6 separate regions of the Homo sapiens genome follow, and all the other regions are linked to region 6. The links are contacts of gene promoters, found by promoter capture Hi-C in blood cells and fetal thymus (Javierre and others, 2016). All regions are on one chromosome and are shown on one strand. The core of a region is centred on a gene start or on the middle of the fragment in contact, and the rest is flanking DNA. Distances in the headings are between cores, read along the strand shown.

Evidence for each region. The method cuts DNA at HindIII sites, captures the fragments that hold promoters and counts their contacts. A CHiCAGO score of 5 or more calls a contact.
Region 1: a fragment that was not itself captured here is called in contact with the fragment with the promoter of FDX1 in region 6 in 3 of 17 cell types (total B cells, naive B cells and fetal thymus); the score reaches 8.5 in total B cells.
Region 2: a contact is called between a fragment that was not itself captured here and the fragment with the promoter of FDX1 in region 6, in 1 of 17 cell types (total B cells). The highest score is 5.5, in total B cells.
Region 3: a fragment that was not itself captured here is called in contact with the fragment with the promoter of FDX1 in region 6 in 12 of 17 cell types (total CD4 T cells, naive CD4 T cells, fetal thymus and 9 more); the score reaches 13.8 in total CD4 T cells.
Region 4: a contact is called between a fragment that was not itself captured here and the fragment with the promoter of FDX1 in region 6, in 1 of 17 cell types (naive B cells). The highest score is 7.2, in naive B cells.
Region 5: a fragment that was not itself captured here is called in contact with the fragment with the promoter of FDX1 in region 6 in 4 of 17 cell types (naive B cells, naive CD8 T cells, activated CD4 T cells and 1 more); the score reaches 5.8 in naive B cells.

Annotation. Positions count from the first base shown.
Region 1 is chr11:111,418,831-111,421,530 of GRCh38, forward strand. It overlaps a transcript of BTG4 not described here. Among named protein-coding and RNA genes, the nearest start is that of POU2AF1, 41 kb to the left of the region's middle. The HindIII fragment of the contact is 1,460 bases long and covers 536-1,995 here.
Region 2 is chr11:111,280,116-111,282,815 of GRCh38, forward strand. It overlaps POU2AF2 (POU class 2 homeobox associating factor 2), which reads left to right. Exons shown (of 5, transcript NM_198498.3): 3 at 1,283-1,325. Among named protein-coding and RNA genes, the nearest start is that of POU2AF3, 17 kb to the right of the region's middle. The HindIII fragment of the contact is 337 bases long and covers 1,202-1,538 here.
Region 3 is chr11:111,230,303-111,233,002 of GRCh38, forward strand. No RefSeq gene overlaps it. Among named protein-coding and RNA genes, the nearest start is that of POU2AF2, 14 kb to the right of the region's middle. The HindIII fragment of the contact is 5,671 bases long and covers 1-2,700 here.
Region 4 is chr11:111,251,095-111,253,794 of GRCh38, forward strand. The region is part of intron 1 of POU2AF2 (POU class 2 homeobox associating factor 2); the gene reads left to right. Among named protein-coding and RNA genes, the nearest start is that of POU2AF2, 6.7 kb to the left of the region's middle. The HindIII fragment of the contact is 3,728 bases long and covers 1-2,700 here.
Region 5 is chr11:111,379,840-111,382,539 of GRCh38, forward strand. No RefSeq gene overlaps it. Among named protein-coding and RNA genes, the nearest start is that of POU2AF1, 1.9 kb to the left of the region's middle. RefSeq lists enhancers at 63-152, 373-592. The HindIII fragment of the contact is 2,378 bases long and covers 206-2,583 here.
Region 6 is chr11:110,428,671-110,431,370 of GRCh38, forward strand. FDX1 (ferredoxin 1) reads left to right here and starts at 1,278. Exons shown (of 4, transcript NM_004109.5): 1 at 1,278-1,635. The coding sequence starts at 1,451. RefSeq lists a silencer at 1,092-1,741 and an enhancer at 1,812-2,091. The HindIII fragment of the contact is 8,631 bases long and covers 1-2,700 here.

The sequences.
Region 1 (2,700 bases), core at 16-2,515, 990 kb after region 6:
CAGGAGTTTGTTTTAGTTCACTAGGGCTGCCAAAACAAAGTACTGACTGGATGGCTTAAAGAACAGAAATTTACTTCCTCACCATTGTGGAGACTGCAAGTCCAAGGTCAAGGTGTCAGCGGGGTTGTTTCTTCTGGGAGCTCCTCTCCTTGGCTTCCAGATGGCCGCCTTCTCTCTTTGTCTTCATATGGTCTTCCCTCTATACCTATCTGTGTCCTAATCTCTTCTCATAAGGACACCAGTCATATTGGATTAGGGCCTACTCATATGACCTCATTTTACCTAAATAACCTCCTTAAAGACCTTATCTCCAAATAGAGTCATATCCTGAGGTACTGGGGATTAGGAAGTCAACCTATAAACTTGGAGGAGAAGAAGGAGGCTGCACAATTCAGCCCATGACAGAAGTTAACACTGATGCTCAGAGAAGTGCCAGTGAGTCCCTGATAAAAGCTACAGCCAATCAGTTCAGGAACCAAGAATTAGGCCTGTAACTGCCTTCCTTCTTGGCTGACTGACAACCCTAGAGATACAAAGCTTCATCCAGCACTGGTAACCGAACTTAACTCTATTTTGCCACCACCACTTCCTGTACGTGCCCCTCGCCCCTTGGCCTCCCCACAGCACTGGTGCTACCTGAGGTGTCTGTATTTGAGCCAAAGGCAAGAGAAGGTGTCAATACGGAAGAGAGAAAGAAACATGTCTCCCTTGGGACTAGGGTGGGAAATGACAAGGATGGAGGCAACTTCCAAGGAGAACCACTGGCTCGCTTCCCAAGCTCATAAGCAGAACATAGAAAAAAGGTCCAAATGCCCTGGCTAGATGGAAGAGAGCCAAGCCACCAGCAAGTACCAGCAGCGGGTCTCTGACTGCCAGCCAAGGCCATGGCGCTGCCAGACAGGAACTGACATGGAGCAGAGAGAGAGGCCTGGCAGCGGGATGGCTTCACCCTCCACACAGCTTTTGCTGTTGGCTTCTGCAGGGTCATGAGTCCTCAGCAGCCTCAGTTCCCAGAGTCACTCTTCACTATTGGGTGCCAGTTGGCTAAGTGCCATATTGGAAAAAGAGTACGGGATGTGAGCTTCTAGATGAACCAACCCATTATAATCAGACTTGGCTTAGTTTGGCCACACATTGCCAAGACAGGAGGGAGGTGTTGCTGACTCAGCACCAGGCACCCAAGGACAGGCAGGTCCAGAAGTGGCTTGAGGTAAAGGAATCTACAATGGACAACTGTAGTGTCCTAGAGATGCCTAGGGTCCAGCCATTAAGCTGTAGTCCAGTTCTCTCGGCAAAGGAAAGTTCACAGTCTATCTTCTCAGCTGCCCCTGAATCCAAGTCTCAAGGTGCAAAGTCCTGGAGGACTTGCAGACACCAGCTGCTGGCTTGTCCAGGAGATATTAAAGTTTCCTTTAAAATCATCCCAGCAGTCCAGATGACCTGCTCTTCAACCTCATCCTGAAATTGCATCCACAGCAGGGTAGACCAATCTGAGCAGCCAGCTCTGGAAGTGAAACTGAGGAGATCATAGCCAACAATCCTCCTTGGACCAGGTGGCATTCTGGGCTTTGCCTGGAGAAAGCCACATTTTTTACACAAAGACCAAAAGACCAAGGATCAGGAGGAAGAAGGCAGTGGGCATGGTAGGGTGTGGACTCTGCCTTAGCAGAGACTCTGGGGGAGATAAAACAGGGGGAGATGAGACCATGATCATCTCACAAGAGTTAAGCCTCAAAAGTCACAGGAGCTGTATGTAGAGCTACTTTGCCCACCTGTGGTTCTCCCCTGTAATGGGTAAGAACAAGAAACAGCATTCAACAGTTTGAGACACAGTTTGTCTAGTAGAATGCCAGAGGGATTGCAGTAGCAACCTGGTGACCCCGTTCATTCATGCATTCATTCAACACATTTTTATTGAGCACCTAATTTGTGCCAAGCATTATGCTGAGTGGTTGACAGGATAAAAAAATAAACTAACAGGCCTTACCCTCATGAAGCTTACATTCTAGCAGAGAAAAATGAATCAATTATACAATTCAAAACACTAATAATTGTAATAAGTGCTACCAAGGACTTTGAGAGTACATGATGGAACACAATCTTGGAGGTCCCAGAAGGCTCCTTTGGGAAAGGGACACCTAGGCTAGTCCCTAAAAGGTGAGAGTAAATTACCTAGAAAAAAGGATGGGATAGGGATGGGAAAGAACATGCCAGGAAAAAGGAGTAACTTATGCAAAGGCCTTAAGGCTGGAGAGAGCGTGACAGAATCAAGGAACCAAGGTCCCAAGTGGCTGGAGTCCAGAGATTGGTGTGCAATGGATCTCAAGAGCCTAGCTCTCAGAGAGGGCACCTCATATAGGGCCTCGTAGACTATCTAAAGGGTTTTTATCTCTAAGAGCAGCCAGAGCCATAGAAGGGCTTGGGGGAGGATGAGATGGCATAATTAGCTATGCTGACCTGAGCATTCAGCCCTCCCCTTTACCTAATGTTGCCTCCATACAAAGGAGGAGACCTGGCTTTGTGTCTGAGTTCATCATGATCTGAAAAACTCCAAACTGGATAATTCATGAGAGCTACTTTGCTTCTAGCAAGCACAGCTAGTCAACCGATTTGCAAAGACAAAATTTAGGTTTGCACGTGTGTTTCCCGAAGGGCAGGATGTCCCTGTGGGCTCCCATCTGGCTACCAATTAACTGATGT
Region 2 (2,700 bases), core at 120-2,619, 850 kb after region 6:
TTCCCCAACCTCTCCCTGCTCTCTAGCCTGTGGGTTCTTTGAAGATTGTGTCTTCATTCCACATATTTTTCTTACGTCTATTATGAACTACACCCTGTTCTAGGCACTGAGGGCACATCACAGTCAAGGTCCCTACAGTTGGTGGAGCTTCTTCCTCCACATGGATTCAGACAGTAAACATTGAAGTGGCCCTTCAGTGCTGAAGCCAAACACTAAGTGCATGTATGCACATACACACATACAGTAGGCGCCCCTTAGCCATGGTTTCCCTTTCTGAGGTTTCAGCTACTCATGGTTAACTGCAGTCTGAACATACTAAATGCGAAATTCCAGAAATAAACAATTTCTAGATCTTAAATGGCATGCCTTTCTCAGTGGTGTGATGAAATTTCATTCAGTCCCACTCTGTGCTGCCCAGGACTTGAATCTTACCTTTGTCCAGCCAATCCACACTGTCTACACCACCTGCCCGTTAGTGTCTCAGTAGCCGACTCAGTGATTGGATCACCTGTCTCTGTATGGCAGTGCTTGTGTTCAAGTCACCCTTATTGTATTTCACAATGGCCCGAAAGCACAAGAGTAGTGACACTGGCAATTTAGATATGCCAAAGAGAAGCCGGAATGTGCTTCCTTTAAATGAAAAAGTAAACGTTCTCAACTTAATAAGGAAAGAAAAAAAATGTATGCTGAGGTCAGACATTGGTATGGTAAGAACAAATCTTTTGTCTGTGAAATTGTGAAGAAGGCGAAAGAAATTCATGCGAGTTTTGCTGTTGCACCTCGAACTGCAAAACTGTGGCCACAATGCATGATAAATTCTTAGCTAAGATGGAAAAGGCATTGAGTTTGTGGGTGGAGGACATGATGGCAATCAGGTGTGGTGCTATCCTCAGTTTTAGGAACCCACTGGGGAGTCTTGGAACATATCCCTCGTGGGTAAGGGGAGGCTACTGGATATGCGTATATATAGTCACTTAATATATATTGGATGAGGGAATGTTAACTGGAACAGTAGAAGATGAAGGATAAATTACTACATTTCATCCAGCCAGTGCTTTCTGGCATGTTTATCAAAATGTAAAAGTGTGGTTGCTCTTTGTCCCTTGTAAAACTTTGTTCTATGGTACTTGAATTCTTATTCTCAGTTGACCTGAGGGTCAACCCAACTCCCCAGATAATACTTCTGAATATCATAAAACCAAGCTTATAAGGTGTATTCCTAATTTTTATTAAATTCAAACTTACAACTAAAGAAAACACTTGAATTCTGTTTACCTTCCAGGGCAGCGTCAGTTCCTCTCAGTCTCCATTTGTGCAGATGCCAGGTGAGTACTTTAATTCAATAAGCAATTATTCCCTTTTGAATTTAAATCAAGCATCTGGGCTTCCATTCTTTCATAACGACCTTACAACACTTCCAAAACTCTGCTCCTTTAAAATAGTTTTGTCTAAAATACAAAATCAGCGAAGGACAGAACTCATGCAGTAATTTCTGAATTTAAAATTCATTTTGTCTTGAAAGCAGCCCTTTTATCCCAAGCTTTTGGGGCAAAGGCAATATAAATTATGCCCTTGATACAGTTTTAAATTGTCTAAAGTTCTGACACCATGATCTGATAGATGAGGCATCTGCTTTCAAACAGAAAGGGGAAAGCCGTCTGCGAGCAGAGGGAGTCAGGCATTTGGTTCAGTATTTTGAATTCATTTCAATGCCTATGTCTCATTAAATACTCCTGTGGGGATGTAAAAGGGGAATTCCTAATAATACTGTTGGACATTCTTGTATAAACACACACCACACAGGCAAAGACAATCTCATTTAGTTCAACTCAGACGCGGCACATTCCCTAATAGTTTTATCACCTTCAGAGCTGGATAAGGGAAAGGAATAAGAGCAATCGAGGATCCCGAATATTTAAATGTCTGTATGTTGTTTCCCAATCATATATAGTGCCATTGAAATTTGGTGGCATCTCCTGCCTTCTACAGAAAAAAAAAAGAAAAATTTCCATAGCTTCTCTTTATCTAGAAATTATCCTTTCTCTTTGTACAGAGAAAATCCATGCTAAGAGAGCAGAGGCTTTTTTCTTCGTGGTTGTTTTGATTTGGAAATTGGGAGTATAGATGAGAGCCTGGAAACCTTGTTTTCATATTCTCAACCTTAACCGCTCTCATAAATATAATTTCATTGTATGAAACAGAACCTTATTTATTTATATTAAGGTTCAGCTGCACAGATTTTTTCCCAAGGAAGTATGCTTATAATGAAAACCCTAACTTCAGCTTTCAAATGCATGAGCAGGTTAGAAGTTATAGAATGTAAGATGAAAGTGAAGTGAGTGGAGTCGTGCCACAGGTTTTGATGGGGAATTTTGATTTCTTCTTCTGGATGAATAAATTCACATGCCATTCTTGAACACAATGTTATACTACTAGGTTTAAAGAAAATGTATAAGGCATGAGATCTGCCCCCTTGGGCTCGCAGGTTGACTGGAAAGATCATTGTGACTCAGGTGAAAGAGGAATGAGCATAATATAAAGTGCCACATCCTGTGGAACGGGCTGGAATTCTGTGTCTATAGAATCAGAAGCTCAGAAGTGGTCTGCTGCTGTGGTTGGGGTAAGGTAAGGAAGACAGGCACTTATATCTTCTCCCCAGTTCAGCCTTTTTGTGACCTATGACCTAAGGGTGTTGGTGTT
Region 3 (2,700 bases), core at 153-2,652, 800 kb after region 6:
GAAAGAGGCACCTCCTCTATGTGCCATGCTATGTAGTGATCCACAGCAAAGCGTAGGGGAAAGAATTGGAGGGATAGGCAGGGAAGGTCGGGAAATGGATTCCTTCTCTGCAACCAGTCATGGAAGGAGCATTTCAGGTTGATGTCCGCGATTTTCAGGAAGAAAAGAGTACCTTCCTTCCAGGTCACTGCAGTTCCCAAAAAAATCCTCGCTCTTGCCCAGCTGCCGGGGCAAGCCCTTTTGGCGAGCTGCGGATAGGGTTGAGGCACCACCTAGTGGCTTAAACTGAAAATACTCCCAAATGAATGTCCCTGGTGAAAGGAGGCAAGAGGGGAAATCGTGATCGCCCAAGGCAGGAAAAGGGAATCGAAAGCAAAAACTACTCATGCTCAAAGCCTCCTTTCTGCATTCCCCTCTAGCCTACAGCTACGCATCATTAAAAGATGTCCTTTTTATGCCAGCCTGGTCAAGAACTATTATGTTGTTGTTCGGGTTTTTTTGTTTTTGTTTGTTTGTTTTGTTTTGAGACGGAGTTTCGCTCTTGTTGCCAAGGCTGGAGTGCAATGGCCCGATCTGGGCTCACTGCAACCTCCGCCTCCCGGGTTCAAGCGATTCTCCTGCCTCAGCTTCCCGAGTAGCTGGGACTATAGGCTCGTGCCACCACATCTGACCAATGTTTGTATTTTTAGTAGAGACGGGGTTTCGCCATGTTGGCCAGGGGTCTCGAACTCCCGACCTCAGGTGATCCGCCCACCTCAGCCTTTCAAAGTGCTGAGATTACAGGCGTCAGCCACCGCGCCCGGCCAGGGTCAAGAACTTTTATGTGAGGGAGGTTAGTAGGTCAGGTCAATGGATTTCAACACCCCCAAAAGAACTGTAGTCTAGATTAGGCATGTGAATAAGGAGAGTTAGGGAAAGGAGGGCAGATAGGAGATTCAGTCTGAGGGGAGAGGTTTAAATACAGCTTCTAGAACTCTGAGCAATGTTCATACATTGGTGTCAGGTGCAGATGAGGCTGTCAACTGGTGAAGTCAATTCAGGATGGTTGATAAGAAGGGTTTGTGCCAGGGTCCAACCTCAGGAAACTAGGCAGCTGATTGGGCTCCCTCACTCCACCTCTAGAAACCTGGGGAGATGGGGAAATTTCAAGCATTCAAAGGATCAGACAGGAGAGGTGGAAAACAGACAAAATCAGATTCAGGAAGTGGCCAAGTTTAGTGTCAATTTATGCCAGGTTGAATGATGGTCAGTCTGTACAGATTTGGTCCCAAGTCTGTTCAGGTTAGCAGCGTGCAAGGTGTGATGGAACCCTTGACCCTGCAGGCATTGATATTCTGTTATGTTTTCTAAGAATGATACTCTAGATGTTTCTCTCTGCCCCTGGGCTTTGTTACATCTGCTCTCCAGGCACCCCAGCCCCAGCAACCCCTCAGTATTCAGACCAAGGCAGAGGATGGCATTTCTTCTATTTGACCATCAAGGACTTGCCCTTCGGGCATATCAGGACTGACACTGCAACTCACTCCTTCACCTTTCCTTTAGCCTCTGTAACTCAGCTCCCTAAAGTTTCAGGCTCCCCTGCCCCGTTCTCTCTTTTCTATTTTGACTCACCTTTATTTTCACTTTTTAATGTTGACTCTATCCTTGAGTGAAGTGTGACTTCACCTTTTGTTCTAAGCTGAGCTCAGGGCTCAGTCTCACTAGCGGTCAGATGGTTTTGCTGGTCAGAGTCGTGTCAGGAGCCTCTCCACTTGATCTCAGATTCCTGCCACAGCTGCCAGACTGCTGTTTCTCCTTATTGCAAAAGCTCAGGCCATTGAAGAGCTCCCTAAACTTATGTAGGCTAAAGGGATCTCCCTTGGGTCTTTATTTATTTATCATACAGAACTGATCATCCCCAGGGATCAATGAATGAATGAGCCTTCCTATGTCTATATTAGTGATGTATTTATGTCATAACATACTTAACATAGTCGTGTTTCCAATTGTATATGCCTGAAAGGCTAAACTGCTGTAACAGGCCCTGAGTTACAGTGTCTTCAAAATAAAGTTTATTTATCTCTCATGTTACAGTTCAGAAAAATATCAAGCTATTTTTCTGGACTCAGTCATTCAGTGACTCTTCCATTTTATTTCCTCACCACCTTTCAGAGAATTTCCCTATGTTCAGTAAATATTTGAGCACTTACTATTTAAAAGGTTCTGGGTCACATTTTACAGGAGATAGGTAGTTCAGCCTTCTCAGAACTCAAGATCTAATGGGAACACAAAGCAAGTAAAGGAATAAGTACAGTTGAGAGAAGAAAAACAAATACAATAGAGAGATCTGCAGGGATCAAATGAGGAAGGAATCACCTTCAGTTCAGGGACAACAGGAAAGTCTTCACAGAGGACATGTGTATAAGATAAGATTTGAAGGATAAATAAAATTTTAGTAAACAACAGAAGAAAATGTTACCAGTGGAGAAAACAGTATGAACCAAAGTTTGAGGATTAAAATATATATAGAAATGCTCCTAAATGTCCATCAATGATAAATTGGATAAAGAAAATGTGGTACATTGGTTTCACCGTGTTGGCCAGGATGGTCTCGATCTCTTGGCCTCACGGTCCGCCCACCTTGGCCTTCCAAGGTGCTGGGATTGCAGGCATGAGCCACTGTGCCTGGCCTTCATTTTTTCTTTGAGTCAGGATCTCACT
Region 4 (2,700 bases), core at 20-2,519, 820 kb after region 6:
AGGGTGGATGTGGAAGCAGGAAAAACAGTTGGAAGGCTGCCACAGTAATCTACATTACTGTAGAAATTGCCCTGGATGGAGCCTGGATATTATCAGAAGAGTAAAGAAAAGTCAGCAGACTCTGGATGTATTTTGTAGGTAGCACCATCAGGAATTGCTAAAGAATAGGCTGTGAAAGATGAGACAGAGGAGCCTAGAATGACTCTACAGCTTCAGGACTCAGTCACCACAAAGACAGGCTGCCATCAACTGAGATAGGAAAAGTTTCAGATAAAACAAATGTGGAAAGGAAGAATGGAGTTCATATTTGGATGTGTGGAGTTTGAGATGTCTACTAGACATCCAATCATAAATGGATATCCAAGACTGAAGTCCACGTCTGGGCTGGAGATACCCATTTGAAACTCGATTACATCTATATGGCATTTAAATCTAGTATCTCCAATTGTACTCATTCCTTACCACTGCACACATCTTTTCTGCTTCCTGTCTCTTTGTTCTTGCTCACAGATGCCTGCTGTCTACAAGGTCATTCTCCTTCCTCCTAACCTGTCCACATGCTTCTCATTCCAGCTTAAGTCCCATCCCTTCCCACAAAACTTTCATCAACAATCCAAAGTGTACTCTTCCCCCTCCCCTGCTCTTTCACATGTGAATGTCTGATTTCTCTCACTAAAATAAGATCTCTTTGAGGACATCTGCTATATGTTCTAAAGTTATTTTGCATCCCCTGTGGCATATAGCCCCGTGCTTTGCACTAAGTCAGTGCCAACTGGTACATAAGACTGATTGTTTTATGACAAAACTTCAGAAGTTTTGATCTGGATATTTGCCATCTCATGAACTTTATTCCTCTATTAATCACCATGTGGTTATTTGTTAAACTTATTTAGAATAGGTGTATTTCCCCTAGGCTTTTTGGCATACACATAAAGTATAGATTGCTAATTCAGATAAAAATCATCAATTAAAAAGCACTTTAAAAAGCAAAGTAGAGACAGTCTGCAAATATACAAAGGATCCAGCCTGGACCTCCTCAATTCCCAGGCCCTCCTCCTTCCCAGAGTTGTCTAAGTCCACATCGACCTCAGTCAGTCAGATACTCCCCCTCTTGCTCAGCCAGGACTGCGTAGATTAGAGTTGACCACCCCACCTCCACAGGAACCTTCTAAAGGCCTTACTCATATGTATATCTGTGGTTCTCCAACGTCAGAGAGCATCAGAATCACCTGGAAGGCTAGGCCCCACCCTAGGGTTTCTGATTCGGTACATTTGGAGTAGGGTCGGCGAATTTGCATTTCTAGCAAGTTCCTAGACAATGCTGATGCTGCTGGTCCAGGGATCACATTTGAGAATCACCGACGTATATTCTTTGACTTGTCTGTCTGGCTTTGACCCCTGCCTGGTTCTGCCCAGTTTTGAATTGCTCTCCTATGCCAGCCTGCTTGATGTGCACTAGAGCGGTCGTAGTAACTGGCCATACCACCACCCCGCCCACACCCTGACTTTCTGTATTTCAGTCTCAGAAGTTGAGGGTCAATTTGTGCCCTTGACCTTAATTTCTTTCTGCCTTTTCAAGACCTCTTTCCATCATTCTGTCCCTCTCTTCTAAGCCATTAGTCTTCCCTCTGTCCTCTTCAAATATTTTCAACTCTCTCCCACTCATAAATGCATAAATAGATATAAGAACATAAGCAAACCTCTCCTTGACACCATAATTCTCTCTAATTATCACTCAATCTCTTGTTTCCCTTTCTCATTCAAACTTCAAGAAGAAATAGTCTCCCCTTCCTGTGTCTACCTCCTCCATTGACATTATTGTCTGGCTTCCAGCCACCCCGCACTTCTGAGTTATTCTTGGTAAGCTCAATGCCAACCACTGAATTGAAAGTAAGAGATGTTTTTCTGTCTTTATCTTCCTGAACTACTCTGTTGCCTCTGATTTTTTTTAATTTCTTTCTTGAAATCTCTTCCCCAGAATTCTAGGATGCTTTATTCCCCTGGTTTTTCCTGTTTCTTCTCCAATTAGTCTTCCCTTATCTTCTTCATAGGGTTCTCCTCTCCTCCTCTGACAACCATTCAAATGTCACTGTTCCCCAGGCTTCCATCTTTAATCATTTAGTCCACAGCTTCCAAACCTGTGTGTCAGAAATCAGTGTTATAGGCATTCCAAAGATACTGATCCTCTTAGCTCTTGGAAGTAGCCTGACCTGTTTACCCCAGTATGCCAGGTGCTCATTATTCTTTTCTATGTGTGCCACCATGTGACTTTATCTTTCAATCACTCCCCCAAGGGATTTCATCCTCTTTCTTGGTTTCATTACCATCCACATCACGATGGTTCTGAAACTTATGTACTGAGAGCAATTCCATGGTGGAAACTTGAGATTCACCCTTGAATCTTCTTCTCTCTCATGTTTAAATAATGTTCAAACCTGTCTGATCCTTGCCCTCCCATCCACCACTACTCAGTCCCCATCAGCTCTTGCCTGGATTATTCTAGAACCCTCCTGACTGATCTTCCCGCAGCTTTGTGATTCTCAAAACCACCTTCCTCTCAGCTGCCAGAAAAGTCTATATAAAATGCAAATCAAACCAACATCACTGTCTTTCTTAAAAGCCCCCAATGGCGTATGGCCTAGAGGATGCATTCCAAACTCTTCCCTATACCAGAAACATCATGATTGACCCCTACTCATT
Region 5 (2,700 bases), core at 145-2,644, 950 kb after region 6:
TCGCCCCCAGCCACCCCCAAAATGGCAAGGCTTAATCATGCTGAAATATGGGGGCGCTGGCTCTGATGTCGGCTATGCCCACGGAAAAAGAGGCCAACCCTCAAGGAAGGAAGGAGAACATGCCCGTGCTCTTTGACTGGATCTGGGCTTGTAGGCACAAGATGAACAGAGCCTCTTTGCGAGTGCCCACCCACTGATAACAGGAAGCTTCTTTAAGTAAGTCATGGGCTCACCATCTGGAAGTGTAGATGGTGTTGGCTACCGGTTCCTTCACAGTTTGGAAGCCTTCTGCCACTGCATATCTGAGGTCCACATGCTCAGGCTCCAGGGACTCAGTCAGTTTGGGGTCAAGACCCCTTGGCACACCCCCTAGAGCAGGTGTGGGGCCTTGCTGCTCTGCCATCCATACTGCCTCAGAGCCATCTTGCACCACCTAGACCTGATCATGCTATCCCCTAGCCTACAAAGCATTCACCTTCTCCCTTCAGCCACAGAGCTGGAGGCCTAGAAGGCCTCCCACAATCGAGCCGTTGCCTTCCTTTCCAGCCTCACCACCAACTGCCCTCCTACCACTGGTCCCAGTGCCCTCTAAGCACCACCAAACACCCATGCAATTCCCTGCCTTTGACCTTGCCGTCCTCTCTTGCCGGAAGGACAAACCCCCAGCCCAGAGAATACTTGTTCGTCTTCTCAGATCTTAGAGCACTTTGTTCATTATGTGATGGTGAATTGTCACATGACTCTGACAGTTTCTCAAGGAGGTTTCATCTTTGCCTCTCCAGTGCCCCACACAAGACCTGGAGCATAGTGACCCCCAATAAAAATTCATCTGATAAAGTTATGAATTACTGTCTCTAATCGGTTGCTGATTTGAGGGCAGGTCTTGAGGAGAAATGCTGTCAACATTTTATAAATGATTCACTTAAAAGCCAGAGAAGGCTGTCTCCTGGCTGCCTATAAGCCCTCCCCGCAAAGCCTCTGAAGTTCAGGACAGTGGAGGCCCCCATGCTGTGGTGGCTGGCAGCCCACACCCTGGCCTGGCAGGGGGCAGCATCTCAAGGCCTTGGGCTGCGCCAAGGAGTTTCCATGAGAAACAGAGGCACATCCCTCAGGCCTGCCTCAGTCACAGGAGACGTGGGTTCCCATGAAGGCTCTGACACTCACTCACTGTGTCCCCTTCAACAAGTCACATAACTCTTCTAGCCTCAGTTTCCTCATCTATAAAATGAAGAACCAGTTCTGTGAGTGTCTCACAGGTTCGTAGGAGGATATGTGGCCTCGCTGGTCCTCTCTCCCACGGGTCTGTCTTTTGTCTCTTTTGGTCATGTCTTATTCTCTCCAAGTCCGTGAAATTCAGAACTTTTTCTTATTCATCTCAGTTTCTCCCCACAGGCCTAGCATGATGATTTCCACAAAGTAATAATATAACCACTTACTGTGCAAGAGGCTCCATGTTAAGCCTTAAATACATTACCTAATCTAGTCACCACAACAACGCTGCAAGGAAACGTCTACCTGTATTGTTCAGAGAAACAAACAAATGCTTAGGGAATTTCATCTGTCCAATGTCACCAAGCTATCAGGTTATAGGCTGGTGCCAGACCCAAGTTCATCTGACTAGAGCCAGAGCTCTAAATCATTAAAATAAAAGATATTTATTAAGTTGAAAGCAGTAAATGCCAAGTGTCAGCCATGTTTGTTAGTAGTAATATAGGATCATTATTATTAAAACCTGAAGCAGATCAACAGAAGCTATATCCCCCGGAATAAATTTCTGTCCTCTGGAAAGAGGGAAGGAAAAGGTGAGACCCAGAGCTACTCTGACAAATCAGATCTTGTACAGTGGCAGAAAAACAAAATGTCAGTGGGCAAGCCCACCATCATGGCCAGCGATAAACCCATCACCTCTTATGGCCTCACAGCTCATGAGGCAGATTCCAGCTCATTTCTTCCAGCAAATACCCTGCATATCAGTGACCACATACAGGCAGATGCTTTGGAATCAAGACTTGATCGAAACAGCAAATATTTTCCAGGAAAACATTTTCTGTGACTTAGAATCAAAAGTCAAACTGCATGGCATAGTTCAAAAGAGGCGACTATGTTTATGCAATGTCTCAAGAAGTGGAAGAAAAGAAGAAAAAATCTGTGAACATGGTCCAGATGACTCCAAATACAGGTGTGCTCACATTTTTAAAGAATCTGATATACAAACATCAAAACTTCTAAAATAATTTATTAAAGCGCACTGATTCATATTGTGAAATAAATTTTAGCTTTGCAAAAAGATTCACCATCGACTTCATTTCTTCCATCATTTAATAAATATTTACAGAGTGCTTATTACATGTCATTACCTCTGCCAAGTCTTAATCTTTTCTTTTCATTTAGCCTTTAATCATCTTCATTCTCATCATTTTTGATTTATGAAAAGCCCCTATCTTATTTTGCTCAGTAATTTATTTATTCATTCATCTACTTTCCCCCTCATTTTCCATGTCTATTCTTTTTCCTGTCCCCTCATACCCCCATCACCCACCCACCATTCCAATCAGGGCAACTCTTTTCAGTGGTTGATGCTGAAGCTTTTATTTGTAGACATTTGTGCCTGTTCTTATAAGATCTGTATTGTTTGGCATGTATAGATTTTTAATTTATGTAGGTGATGTTATATTACACATTTCACGCTGTTTCTTATTT
Region 6 (2,700 bases), core at 28-2,527:
CCTCCTCTTCAAGATTACTTGTCAGGGTTTGCTGTGCCCTTCGCAGCTTGAAAGACTTTCTCTTCATCCAACGATTTGAGGCAATTAGGAGCCACTGCCTTCTCTCTGCCATTGGGTTCCAGAAAGCACCATACATTGTCCGCAGATACTTTACTCATGCTTACACTTTCTTGTTCTGAATCTTCAAAAATTAGTGGCGTGTGGTGGCACACGCCTGTAGTCCTAGCTACTCGGGAGGCTGAGGCAGGAGAATCACTTGAACCTGGGAGGCGGAGGTTGCAGTGAGCCGAGATTTCGCCACTGCACTACAGCCTGGGCAGAATAGAGAGACCCCATGTCAAAAAAAGAAAAAAAAAGTATCTGATTGTGTTTAGCATATCTGCAATATCCCCTTGACTTTGGCCTTTAGCCTCTTTATGAGTACCCTGATGGAGGAAGGCCCAGGAAGCGGTAGCCTTCCTGGTTTGTGACGCACGGTGTGCATTGCGTATTAGATTAACATCAGAATGGCCCTGAAGGCTGGAACATCTTATCTGTGTTTGAGAGTTATGGAAACTCTGATCCTCCATGAGAATAATTTTTCCAAGGTCTCAGATCTCTAAAGCAGTAGATCTTGGATCTGAACATTGCTATTTCTGACCTTAAAGCCCATGCATTTCCCACAACATATGAACCATGATAAGGTGTATTTTAAAGTTCATCTTTTCTGTTTTTTGTGAAAGTCTTTTAGAGATCTCAGCTCATCACAAAGTTTCCGGTTCAGTCTCGTGGGTTTCATGTACTCAGCCAGCATTTACTTGCCAGTCAAGGTCTAGGATGGCTACCTGTCCTCTGCAGGAGCCCCAAGCCTATTCATTAATTTCATTTACAATTTTATAGTCATAATTATTTCTTTGTATAATAGCATTCTGAGATTTTCCAAAATTTCCCACTGTTTTTGTTTTACAGTGGGCAGAATTCACTTTGCTCTAACTTGACTCCAAGATGACACAATTTCCCAGTTTTTTTTTTAACGGCTAGGGGATGGGGGTATGCGGAACAGAACACAGTGGTCTAGCTAACCGATTTCCGCTAGACGTCCAGCTATCTTTCAAAATATTTTGTTTCTGCACGGCAACTTCAGCCGCTAAAAAAGCATCCAGCTTACAACGGAACCTGGAGGGTTGGTAAAGGCCCCCTGCGCTGGCCCCGCCCCATGGGACCGGGCGGCGTGGGCGTGAGAGGCGGGGCGGGGCCGCGCTCTGCTTGCCAATGTCTTTATAGGTCACCCGGAAGGCACGCGGAACCTCGGCGCGGTGCTTCCAGCAGGGTCTCTCCGCCACTCCAGCCCCGCGCCCCTCGCCGCGGCCCTCGGGCGTCTGCGCCGCAGCTGCCGCCCCCGCCTCTTTGGAGTCTCTCGCGGCCTCAAAGCGCGGCCTGCGTCGCTTCCGGCAGTTCCCGACCGCGGGCGATGGCTGCCGCTGGGGGCGCCCGGCTGCTGCGCGCCGCTTCTGCTGTCCTCGGCGGCCCGGCCGGCCGGTGGCTGCACCACGCTGGGTCCCGCGCTGGATCCAGCGGCCTGCTGAGGAACCGGGGGCCGGGCGGGAGCGCGGAGGCGAGCCGGTCGCTGAGCGTGTCGGCGCGGGCCCGGAGCAGGTAGGGCGCCGTGCGGGCGCGATCGCCGGCGCGGGCCGGGGTCCCCGGTGGGTGGCGCCTGGCTCTCTGGGCCGAGTCTCTGGTTCCAGTGCCTTCTGCGCGCCGGGCCCACACCCCGGAGGCCTGCCTCTCGCCCCCCTCTTCTGGGGTGCTCTCGCGGCTCCGTCTCGCTGCTCGGTGGCGTCGCTGCCTCCCTTCCGTCGCACCGCAGAGTTCCTTTCCGCATCACCCACTCCCGGCGGGAATCGGGGACCCTGGACGCCCAGCTCCCTTTCCCAGCGCTTCCCGTGCCCTGAGGAAAGCCGGGACTTTGCTGCTGCTTGTTCTCCGTGTGATTTGTCTGGGATCTGACCTTTGCTCTGCCCGAAACTGGCAGTGACCTTCGCGACAGGCTTCCCTCCTGCTGTCCTGGCCTGACACACCTGCCAGCTGTTTTTTTCAGGGCCTTGCCCTGCTTTGAGAGGACACCCAGGTCCCAGGTCTTTGTCAGGGGGTGTCCAGGTAGAATACACCCAGCCCATACCCTCTGCTGCCCTGTAGGCCCTTTGCTAGTTGCTCAAGTGTTGAAAGCCCCTGCGTTGAAGTAATCTGCCGGGACTTGAAACTTGGCTTTGGCACTGATTGTCTGACGTGCCTAACTTGGTCAGTCCTTAGGAACCCAGTTTCTCCATTTGCAAGTTGGATATAATAACAGTGTAGACCTCCTATGGTTAATTGAAGAATCAATGAGTTAATACAGCGATACAGGTAGTCTTGTGCCTAGCACGTAATGAGGGCTCAGTAGATGCCACTTGGTAGCAGCAGCAGCAGCAGCAGCAGCAGCAGCAGCAGCTTCTTAGGTTCACAATGTTAAGAGAGTTTTGTATTAAATATTGAAAGAAATGTGACAATTTATCCCAAATGTGTTGAAGTTTTAGGTTCTTGGGCATATTTGTTTTTCAAAGACACTCCTTAGATATACTAGAGATACAATTTACACATAATTTTTACCAACATGGTGGCGATTTATATAATGCAGATCTCTCGACAGCTCTTTGACCGCATGATGTAGGGTAGCAGGAATCG